2 separate regions of the Homo sapiens genome follow, and region 2 is linked to region 1. The links are contacts of gene promoters, found by promoter capture Hi-C in blood cells and fetal thymus (Javierre and others, 2016). All regions are on one chromosome and are shown on one strand. Each heading gives the region's core, a stretch centred on a gene start or on the middle of the fragment in contact. The rest is flanking DNA. Distances are from core to core; before and after follow the strand shown.

Region 1 (5,983 bases), core at 2,697-5,196:
GGCCTCATTTCAAAGGAAGGTTACATCCCCTTTCGTCATCTATAAAATGGCCTCCCAGTGCAGCCCAACACTCCTACCCATAATTAAATCTCCTTATTCCACTTTTAGTTCCCAAGGATTTTTTACTCATGTCCTGCTCTTTCCCTGCTGCCCCCTTTTTAGTCTTTTGTTCTTGAGCCACTGCTTTGAACTGCATCTTAATTATGCCCTCATGGGCCAAACCCCATCTGTGACCCTGCTCCAGTGGGTTTCAGCAAAGGATACTCTCCATCCATATTCTGAGGGCTCCAGGGCCTGGAGCCAGTCATCCAGGAGGTCATCCAAAGGAGTGGAATCCATTGGTTCTAAGACTCTTCATTCCCTGCCTAGGAAGGAACAGCCGAGTTGGAGGAACATGCACTCGATTCAGACCTTCCCTTTTCACCCAGTGAAAGCTAAACCTCTGCAAAGTGGGGAGAAGTAGGGCTAAGCCTACCAGTCATAAAAAGAACCAGGAATAGAAAACACACCCCTCAGCCCCTCTGCCCTGCAGAGGCTGGCTGGGAGGATCCCAGGAATGCAGGGCTCTTCTCCACTGCCTGATCTGGGCATCCCAGGAGTGATGGCTGTACCTCCTGTTCTTGTTTGGTGTTTCAGGGTGAAGCCCGGGCTGTCACTGTGCCCTGGCAACAACATGTATGAGTCAGACTGAGGTCAAGGTGAAGGAACACAGCTCACTGCTTATCACAGTGAATCAGGAGCCTAGATAGGGATTCCCCAAGGATGACATAGGATCAATGCCCTCAATCCAACAGAAAAAGTAAATCTTCAAATCAGATTAAACACCAAACTTCCCACCTCCCTAATATTCTTTCTTCTGGGAAGGATAACTTAGATATATTCCAACACCCTCATAAATCAAGATATAAAAGACAATATTTGACTTCCCTTTAAAATAATTCTACCATTTCACAGTTTGTATGTATGCATGTAAACTTACATGTAATTAGCTAAGTATGTTGCAATTAGCTAAGCCAGCTGGAATCATGAGGAGATAGTGAAAATGTTTGCTAGGAAAACAACCTCATTAACAAACGTAGAGCTTTTAAGAGTTTTGTTGGCTGGGCATGGTGGCTCACACCTGTAATCCCAGCACTTTGGGAGGCCGAGGTGGGTGGATTACCTCAGGTCAGGAGTTTGAGACCAGCCTGGCCAACACAGCGAAACCCTGTCTCAACTAAAAATACAAAAATTAGCCAGGTGTGGTGGCGCATGCCTGTAATCCCAGCTACTCAGGAGGCTGAGGCAAGAGAATCACTTGAACAGAGGTTGCAGTGAGCTGAGATTGCGCCATTGCACTCCAGCCTAGGCAACAAGAAAGAAACTGTCTCAAAAAAAAAAAGTTTTTTTGTTGTTGTTTTTAGGAGACAGTCTCACTATGTTGCCCAGGCTGGCCTCAAACTCCTGGGCTCAAGTGATCCTCCCAAGTAGCTGGGACTACAGGCGCACCACTGCATCTGTAAAAAGTCTTAAGGGCGGCCGGGCGCAGTGGCTCATGCCTGTAATCCCAGCACTTTGGGAGGCCGAGGTGGGTGGATCATTTGAGGTCAGGAGTTCCAGAACAGCCTGGACAATATGGTGAAACCCCACCTCTATTAAAAATACAAAAATCAGCCAGGCGTGGTGGCGGGCACCTGTAGTCCCAGCTACTCGGGAGGCTGAGGCAGGAGAATAACTTGAACCCAGGAGGCAGAGGTTGCAGTGGGCCAAGATTGCGCCACTGTACTCTAGCCCGGGAGAGAGCGAGACTCCATCTTAAAAAAAAAAAAAATACTCTTAAGAGCTAGGTGTATAAGTTCCATTTGAGAAATCTCAGAAACTTATTTTTGGGGCTAGATTTTTGGAGAATTTGTTTTAGGAATGCTGCAACTTTGTCAGAGTGCTCAGATTTTAGTATATTTCCATCACCTGACATTGAACTAAAGCCACTTGGCTGACACCTTTGTTGTGACCACCCACAACTGCACTTACTTGAGGACCTGGTGCAGAAAGCACTGGTAGCCAGGTGTGCACTTGCCATAATCTATCTGCTTTTGCCACCAATAGAGAATAACTTTGTCTCTACTTCCCACCTGCAGGGAAGTATACAATTTCCCACAAAGTGTGATTATACTGTAGTCGTCAAAGCAGATAACAACTCATCCCACACTCCCTTAATCCCCAGCCTGATTTTCAAACTCACCTGGCATAGCAAGGTTCTGTGCTAACTCCTACACTCACTGTCTGTATCCTAGAGGACAAAGAATCTTCACACATCTCCTTTCTGGGGAAGCAGGTTCTGCAGATGAAAAGGGTATTAGGATAAAAACCAGCTGGCTACACTGTGCCTCTCAGCCACTACCACCACCAAGATCCTGACAACAGACACAAGTTGCATTTTGACTTTTGTTTCTCAAAGCATGATCTGCAAGCCGTCTGCATGGGTAGCACCTGGGGGCCTTGATAATGACCCCACTTTAGACCTATCGAATTATCGTTTTTGGAGCCTACATCTTAAAGAGCTTCCAAGGTTATTTTGAACATTTTTATTATGGAAATTTTCAAATATACATTGAAGTAAGAAGTATGGGGTAATACCTTACCACGCAAAGTATGGTCGTAGGACCAGCTACCTCACCATCAGCTGGGGGCTTGTTAGAAGGGCAGAATCTTGGGCCGCAACCGCAACCCAGACATCCCGAATCAGAATCTGCATTTAGCAGGTCCTCAGGTGGTTAGTGTGCAAATTAAACCTTGAGAAGCACAGATATGATGGACCCTCCTGCCCCCATCACTCAACAGTCAGGGTCAATCTTGTATCATCAATACCTTCCCCCAGCACAGGATTATTTAAAAGCAAATCCCTAACATTAGGAATGTCTTTTTGTTTGTTTCACTCTAATGCCCAGGCTGGAGTGCAGTGGCGCAACCTCTGTCTCCCGAGTTCAAGCAGTTCTCATGCCTCAGCCTCCCAAGTAGCTGGGATTACAGGTGTGTGCCACCACAACCGGCTAAATTTTGTATTTTTAGTAGAGACGGGGTTTCATCATGTTGGCCAGGCTGGTTTTGAACCCCTGACCTCATGTAATCTGCCCGCCTCGGCCTCCCAAAGTGCTGGGATTACAGGTGTGGGCCAACGCGTCCGGCCAATAATTTATAAATATCACCTCGTCAATGTTCAAATTTTCATTAATAACCAATCTTTGAGGTCCTCTGGATTGCGATAAGGATTATACCAAGATGATTTAATTCCTCCACTTTCCCTGCAACGGAATTTCTTTTTACCCACGTGAGCTAGAGTCTCTGAGATGCTGCACACTAAAAGAAACACCAAACAAAGCTCTTGGAAGGGGCTAATGCCTCTCAGCATAAACACACACACCCGTCTCGCCCCAACACTTGCCACGCCGGCAGCAAACGCTCCATCTCCCGTGGAAGGCCAGCAAAACTTAGAAGAAAACGTCCGCGAAAACGGCACGAGAAAGAAGCGAAGAAAATGAAACGCTTACAACACCCTCCACCCAAAATAATCTCTCCTAGTATTACCCTAGTGAATGGACATCACTAGTAAGGCGCGGTTTAAATCTCCCGGGGTTCGTGGGGCTGAGGGAACGAGGAAAACAGAAAGGGTGTGGAGATTGGTGAGAGGGAGAGCCAATGATGCGCCAGGCTCCCCGTGAGGCGGAGCTTACCCCGCAGCCTGCCTAACGCTGGTGGGCCAAACACTATCCTGCTCTGGCTATGGGGCGGGGCAAGTCTTACCATTTCCAGAGCAAGCACACGCCCCCAGGTGATCTGCGAGCCCAACGATAGGCCATGAGGCCCTGGGCGCGCGCGCGGAGATTGGCTGACGCAGCTTAGAGGCGAGCGGGGATAGGTTACTGGGCTGGCGGAAGGTTTGAATGGTCAACGCCTGCGGCTGTTGATATTCTTGCTCAGAGGCCGTAACTTTGGCCTTCTGCTCAGGGAAGACTCTGAGTCCGACGTTGGCCTACCCAGTCGGAAGGCAGAGCTGCAATCTAGTTAACTACCTCCTTTCCCCTAGATTTCCTTTCATTCTGCTCAAGTCTTCGCCTGTGTCCGATCCCTATCTACTTTCTCTCCTCTTGTAGGCAAGCCTCAGACTCCAGGCTTGAGGTAAGTCCGCAGCCGTCTCCGCCACGGAATCACGGAGACCCCATTGTCCCCCTTAGGGTCCAGTCGGGCCCCCACAGACAGAGGTTGGGAGGGCCGAATGGGGACTATCGCGAGTTACGAGACCCGGGTTCTTTCTAGTCAGGAGTCTCGAGCTGTGTGGCGTGGAACAAGTCAAAATCCTCTCTTCATTCCATCTTTAAGGTCCTAAGGTTGCCTCTCGTCGGTGAATTCAGGTTCTAACCTTAAGCCAGGCTGTGAATCACCCTTCGGGGTTGCCCCTCTTCCAGTGTTGATTCGCCTGGCTGGAAAGGGTGGAGGAGTTTAGGAAAGCTGAGGGAACTGTGATGTACCGATTTAGATGACGTTTTCCTCCTAGCTAGGTTTTGTTTTTCTCCTGGTGAGAATTCGAAGACCATGTCTACGGAACTCTTCTCATCCACAAGAGAGGAAGGAAGCTCTGGCTCAGGACCCAGTTTTAGGTCTAATCAAAGGAAAATGTTAAACCTGCTCCTGGAGAGAGACACTTCCTTTACCGTCTGTCCAGATGTCCCTAGAACTCCAGTGGGCAAATTTCTTGGTGATTCTGCAAACCTAAGCATTTTGTCTGGGTAAATATACTTTTATTTTTACACTGTATTGCCTTTGCTATTTCCAAACAGTTGGGTTTGTTTGTTGGTTTGTTTTCAATTATCCCGGCTCAAAGGTCAGGCTTTAAGTCTCAACTCTGCCCTTGACTGTGTAACCCTTTTGAGTCTCACCTTCTTTTCTGTGACAAGAAATAATCTCAGCCAGGCGAGGTGGCTCATGCCTGTAATCTCCGCACTTTGGGAGGCCAAGGAGGGCGGATCGCCTGAGTCTAGGAGTTCAAGACCAGCCTGGGCAACATGGCAAGACGCCGTCTCTACAAAAAATATTAAAAGTTAGCTGAGTGTGGTGGTGTGCACCTATAGTCCCAGCAACTCGGGAGGCTGAGGTGGGAGGATTGCTTGAGCCCGGGAGGTGGAGGCTGCAGTTAGCCAAGATCGCCTCACTGCACTTCAGCCTGGGAAACAGAGTGAGACTCTATCTCAAAAAGAAAAGAAAAGACAAAGAAATAATAATCGCTTCCTATCTTACTAGGATCTTGTGAGAATCAAATGATGTGATAACTGGGAAAAGTCTTTGAAAACCGCTGCATTACGAGTCGGTCACTTTATTAGTATTAATATTAGTGTTATTGCAGTTGTACTTTGAATTCTGATCATACCATGTCTCAACTAGCAAAGAGAAGTAGTACCTGAGAAAAACTAGGGACCCCAGGGAGAAATCAAGCCTGTGTTCATAGTGCTCAGGACCGGGAATGTGGAGTCAAGATCCCCCTCGGCCAATAAACTCTGGGCCTCATTTAAAAAAAAAAAAATTATCTGTTTCAGTATGTTGGTAAGGAGAAAATAAAGTACAGATTATGGTAGTGGGAGATTTTTCTCAGCCCAGTCTGATATATTTCCCAAAAGCAATTAGATTTATTTGGACACTGTTCAGATGATCTGATAGTCATTAAGGGGTGTTTCAAATGAACAGGCTTGGCCAGGCGTTGTGGCTCACACCTGTAATCCCAGCACTTTGGAAGGCCGAGGTGGGTGGATCACCTGAGGTTAGGAGTTTAAGACCAGCCTGGCTGACATGGTGAAGCCCCATCTCTACTACAAATACAAAAATTAGCTGGGCGTGGTGGCAGGCGCCTGTGATCCCAGCTATTTGGGAGGCTGAGGCAGGAGAATCGCTTGAACCCGGGAGGCGGAGGTTGCAGTGAGCCAAGATCGTGCCACTGCACTTGAGCTGGGGGGAC
Region 2 (5,983 bases), core at 1,269-3,768, 1.0 Mb before region 1:
TTATTTTACTTACACACTTCTTCCCTCCCCAATCTTCAGTTTTGTGGAAGTTAGCACTGGTAGATTCCTACTATTAGGTTTTCTCTTACTATGTTTTAAAATAATTTTTGAATTGAATACTTGACAATACACATTATCATCCATTTATATTTTACTAAATTCATCACTCAGGCCATGCACAGTGGCTCACGCTTGTAATCCCAGCACTTTGGGAGGCTGAGGCAGGCAGATCACCTGAGGTCAGGAGTTCAAGACTAGCCTGGCCAACATGGCGAAACCGTCTCTACTAAAAATACAAAAATTAGCTGGGTGTGGTGGCAGGCACCTGTAATCCCAGCTACTGGGGAGGCTGAGGCAGGAGAATTGCTTGAACCTGGGAGGCAGAGGTTGCAGTGAGCCAAGACTGTGTCCTGCACTTCAGCCTAAGCAATAAGAGTGAAACTCTGACTTTAAAAAAAAAAAAAAAAGATACAAAGATTAGCTGGGCGTGGCCAGGCACAGTGGCTCACGCCTGTAATCCCAGCACTTTGGGAGGCCGAGGTGGGCAGATCATGGGGTCAGGAGATCTAGACCATCTTGGCTAACACGGTGAAACCCCATCTCTACTAAAAATACAAAAAAAAATTAGCCAAGTATGGTGGCAGGCACCTGTAGTCCCAGCTACTCAGGAGGCCGAGGCAGGAAATTGGCGTGAACCCGGGAGGCAGAGCTTGCAGTCAGCTGAGACTACGCCACTGCACTCCAACTTGGGCGACAGAGTGAGACTCCGTCTCAAAAAAAAAAAAAAAAATTAGCCAGGCTTGGTGGTGGTCCCCTGTTGTCCCAGCTACTCAGAAGGCTGAAGCAGGAGAATTGCTCGAGCCTGGGAGGCAGAGGCTGCAGTGAGCCAAGATCACGCCACTGCACCCCAGCCTGGGTGACACAGCAAGACCCTGTCTCAAAAAATATAAATAAATAAATAAATAAATTCATCACTCGTAGTTTTTTTTTTTTTTTTTTTGACATGGAGTCTCACTCTGTTGCCCAGGCTAAAGTGCAGCTGCACGATCTCGGGTCACTGCAACCTCTGCCTCCTGAGTAGCTGGAATTACAAGTGTGTAACACCATGCCTGTGCCTGGCTAATTTCTGTATTTTTAGTAGAGATGGGGTTTCACTATGTTGGCCAGGCTCGTCTAGAACTCCTGAACTCAGGTGATCCGCCCACCTCGGCCTCCCGAAGTGCTGGGATTACAGATATGAGCCACCACACTGGCCGAGTTGTTTCTTATATTCATCATCTTCCCCTAACTTCCTATCTTTGTAAAATAGTTCAAAAGGCTACCTGAGGATTTATCATTCTAAGCCAGTGTCCAAAACATCTTTTTTTTTTTTATGGATGTACCACAGTTTTTTAAAAATTATTATTATACTTTAAGTTTTAGGGTACATGTGCACAATGTGCAGGTTAGTTACATATGTATACATGTGCCATGCTGGTGTGCTGCACCCATTAACTCGTCATTTAGCATTAGGTGTATCTCCTAATGCTACAAAACATCTTTTGCCTTCATGTTTGAATAAAAATGTTGTATGGCCTGGCGTGGTGGCTCAGGCCTGTAATCCCACCACTTTGGGAGGCCAAGGTGGGTGGATCATTTGAGGTCAGGAGTTCTAGAAAAGCCCGGCCAATATGGTGAAACCTTGCCTCTACCAAAAATACAAAAATTAGCCGGGCATGGTGGTGGGCGCCTGTAGTGTCAGCTACTCAGGAGGCTGAGGCAGGAGAATCGCTTGAACTCGGGAGGTGGAGGTAGCAGTGAGCCAAGATCGCGCCACTGCACTCCAGCCTGGGCGACAGAGCGGAACTGTGTCTTAAAAAAAAAAAAAAAAAAAAAAAGTTGTAACATGAGTATTTCCATGTAAATGTGCTAAAAAAAAAATTAGTTGTAACAGAATTCTGAGATGTCTGTGCTTCCTGTTGATAATCTATTGTCAATAATTCCAACTTTCAATGTTGTAGAAAATCAATTTTCTTTCCTTTTAAAAATCCTGTTCTAGGCTGGGTGCAGTGGCTCACACCTATAATCCTAGCACTTTAGGAGGCCAAGGGAGGTGGATCACTTGAGGTGAGGAGTTTGAGACCGGCCCTGGCCAACATGGTGAAACCCCATCTCTAGTAATACAAAAACTAAGCCAGGCATGGTGGCGCACAGCTGTAGTCCCAGCTACTCGGGAGCCTGAGGCAGGAGCACTGCTTGAACCTGGGAGGCAGAGGTTGCAGTGAGCTGAGATGGTGCATTCCAGCCTGAGCAACAGACTGAGACTGCATCTCAAAAAATAAAAATAAGCTGGGCGCAGCAGCTCACGCCCAGCACTTTGGGAGGCCAAAGGGGGTGGATCACGAGGTCAAGAGATTGAGGCCATCCTGGCCAACTTGGGCGAAACCCCGTCTCTAAAAATGCAAAAATTAGCTGGACATGGAGGTGCACGCTTGTAGTCCCAGCTACTCGGGAGGCTGAGGCAGGAGAATTGCTTGAACCTGGGAGGCAGAGGTTGCAGTGAGCTGAGATGGTGCCACTGCATTCCAACCTGAGCATCAGAGGGAGACTGCATCTCAAAAAATAAAAATAGGCCAGGTGCGGTGGCTCACGCCTGTAATCCCAACACTTTGGGAGGCCAAGGGGGTGGATCATGAGGTCAAGAGATTGAGACCATCCTGGCCAACATGGTGAAACCCCGTCTCTAAAAATACAAACATTAGCTGGGCGTGGTGGCACATGCTTGTAGTCCCAGCTACTGGGGAGGCTGAGGCAGGAGAATCACTGGAACCTGGGAGGCGGAGGTTGCAGTGAGCCAAGATTGCGCCACTGCACTCCGGCCTGGTGACAGAGCAAATCTCCGTCTCAAAAAAATAAATAAAAATTTAAAAATCCTGTTCTAGACGACAGCTTAAGATGTTTTAACAAATTCATATATTTCACCAGATTTTGGATAGGTAAGAGCAATTTTTTCCCAGTACTACTGCCTGGAAGTCAGCAAACCCTTTCAATTTATCAACTTAGGGCTTTATTGTGTCTTCAGCTGTTTTTCCCCTCCTGAAATGCCTCTTAGACATATTGGTTTCCAGCAGTGTCCTTTTATATTGTCTATGGAATTTTAAAATACAGAAATCTTTTAGGTTTTACAATCTTTCTCCACTAGTTTCATCTTTTAAGAATTCTCATTAAAATTCAAATATAGGCCTGGTGCGGTGGCTCACGCCTGTAATCCCAGCACTTTGGGAGGCCGAGGTGGGCGGATCACAAGGTCAGGAGATTGAGACCATCCTGGCTAACACGGTGAAACCCCATCTCTCCTAAAAATACAAAAAATTAGCCAGGCATGGTGGCAAGCGTCTGTAGTCCCAGCTACTCAGGAGGCTGAGGCAAGAGAATGGCATGAACCCGGGAGGTGGAGCTTGCAGTGAAATGAGATCATGCCACTGCACTCAGGCCTGGGCAACAGAGCAAGACTCCGTTTCAAAAAAAAAAAAAAAAAAATTCAAGCATAGTTCTCTTCTGTTTCTTTCATTAATCTACCTCCATAGGCACCATCTTTTCTCATTCCCTTGGACTCTGTTTTGAACCACTGTGATCCTTACCTTATTTGCATATTTTTTAATCGTATTTTACGCATATATACGTTTAAGCATACTTCCTTTGGCAGTTAAAGAGGATCGCAACATTTTTCAATTGGTCTGTTTTCCACTCTGAAGTCTGTGAAAAGCACCGAATTTTTTGTTTTACTATTTGGCACAGTAAGGTAACGATTAAAAAACATGGGCTCTGGGCTGGGCGCGGTGGCTCACACCTGTAATCCCAGCACTTTGGGAGGCCAAGGCCGTTGGATCACGAGGTCAGGAGATCGAGACCATCCTGGCTAACACGGTGAAACCCCGTCTCTATTAAAAATACAAAAACAAAAGTAGCCAGGTGTGGTGTCGGGTGCAGCTACTCAGGAGGCTGAGGCAGAAGAATGGCATGAACCCTGGAGGTGGAGCGTGCAGTGAGCCGAGATCGCGCCACTGCACTCCAGCCTGGGCAACAGAGCAAGACTCCGTTTCAAAAACAACAACAACAACAACAACAACAAAAACCCATGGGCTCTGGAACCAGGCTGCTTTACTAACTGTGTGACCATGGCAAGTTACTTAACCTGAGTCTCGGTTTCCTCATCTGTTGCATGGGAATTAATAATAGTACCTAGTTAGAGAACCTAGCACATAACAATTGGCATTAACTATCTCGGTGATTAAATATTTAGGGCAGTTAAAGGTCTCTAGACCAAGGGACAAGGTAAAAATTAGAGATCTTAAATCTACAGAGGTGAAACAATGTCACAAGAAAATCCCAAAGTCTACCCTAATCTCAACTGTAGTGTAACAAGGGTAATTAGGTGAGAGCAAGAATGGGTCATCCTAACTGATAAAAGCTCAAGTACATTAGAAATGCCACCCAAATTTATACAAACTGATATAAGAAGCAGAGGCTATTCAAATTCTCCAAACGTGTGCCCATCCAATATGGTGGCCATCGGCTACACAGATCTATTTAATTAAAATTTAGTTCTTCATTTACACTAGCCACATCTCAAGTGCTCATAACCACACACAGTACCTACATCATTGGACAGCACCACTCTAAACAATGAAAAAATTAAGAAAAAAGGGAGTTTTTTGGAACTGAACCTTAGCCTATATCAAATGCAAACTATTCATGCACCTGTGCAACAGGTGGTCTAGATCACAAAGGCAATGACTTGGACAACTTTAATCTTAGACCACAGTCAGAAGACGTAGGTTCAAATCCCAGCTATGCTACATAGCCACCTTAAAGTACCCTAGACCTGTCACTAAATCACACAGCACCACATAATGGTTAAGAGCATAGAATCTCTGGACTATCTGGATTTGAATTCCGACTATCATAGCTCTGTGACATTGGGAAAGTTACTTCACGTCTCATTTGTTATCTTCATTTTACAGTAGGGCCTACCTTCTAGCTATGTTGTGGATCAAATTAGTTAATATTTGTAAAGGCAATGAGAACAATGCCTGGCATTATTGTTATATAAATATTTGCTAAATAAAAATAATCTTTCAGGCTTCTATTTCTTTAATTCCCAAATGGGCAAGATAAAACTTGCTCTGTTGGGAGGCCGACGGGGGCGGATCACAAAGTCAGGAGATCGAGACCATCCTGGCTAACACGGTGAAACCCTGTCTCTACTAAAAATACAAAAAATTAGCCGGCGTGGTGGCAAGCGCCTGTAGTCCCAGCTACTAGGGAGGCGGAGGCAGGAGAATCGCTTGAACCCGGGGAGGCGGAGGTTGCAGTGAGCCAATTGCGCCACTGCACTCCAGCACTCCAGCCTGGCGACAGAGTGAGACTCCATCTCAAAAAAAAAAAAAAAAAAAAACTTGCTCTGCCCATTTCACGTTTCATGATAATGAATGACAATAGGATGTAAATTACAAGAAAATGTTTTAAAAGCACAAAAGGTTATTAGATTACAAGGGGGCAGAGGTCTTGCCTTCCACATTCTTTAATCTCCCACAGTATCAACCAAATTGCTGTGCTAAGTGTTCAAGTTTTTCACTAAAACTGGAGCATCACACTCTAGAGTCATAAAGTGATAAACCTGAATAAAGTGCAGAGTGCTTATTTAAGGAAAAGCCTGCTATAAACTCATTCTGACCAAAAGAGGGTGAAATTACCTACCTCAATTTGAGTTCCTAAGGAGCAACGTGCACAGCCTTGAATCATTAGAGGAAATCTCCATTCCCTAACCTCCATCCCTTAAAGAAACACAAGTGGGTTCTATAGTTCTTGTCAAGTTACCTATCCTGTGATTTTGTGTGTGTGTGAAAAAGTTTTATTCAAGTTCACAACTGACAAGTAGTATAAACAGACTAATTTTCCCCAAATATCCTGTCTTTCACTAACTGGAAACAGAATCACAAAA

What was found. The method cuts DNA at HindIII sites, captures the fragments that hold promoters and counts their contacts. A CHiCAGO score of 5 or more calls a contact.
Region 2: a fragment that was not itself captured here is called in contact with the fragment with the promoter of CDC25C in region 1 in 1 of 17 cell types (monocytes); the score reaches 5.3 in monocytes.

The regions. Positions count from the first base shown.
Region 1 is chr5:138,329,767-138,335,749 of GRCh38, reverse strand. CDC25C (cell division cycle 25C) reads left to right here and starts at 3,946. Exons shown (of 14, transcript NM_001790.5): 1 at 3,946-4,155; 2 at 4,532-4,763. The coding sequence starts at 4,570. It overlaps LOC100128966 (a long non-coding RNA gene), which reads right to left and starts at 3,645. Exons shown (of 4, transcript NR_146628.1): 1 at 3,565-3,645; 2 at 2,222-2,317; 3 at 265-365. RefSeq lists a silencer at 3,624-3,883 and enhancers at 3,934-3,983, 3,994-4,123, 3,835-4,788. The HindIII fragment of the contact is 22,786 bases long and covers 1-5,983 here.
Region 2 is chr5:139,343,163-139,349,145 of GRCh38, reverse strand. The region is part of intron 1 of PAIP2 (poly(A) binding protein interacting protein 2); the gene reads right to left. Among named protein-coding and RNA genes, the nearest start is that of PAIP2, 4.3 kb to the right of the region's middle. The HindIII fragment of the contact is 8,536 bases long and covers 1-5,983 here.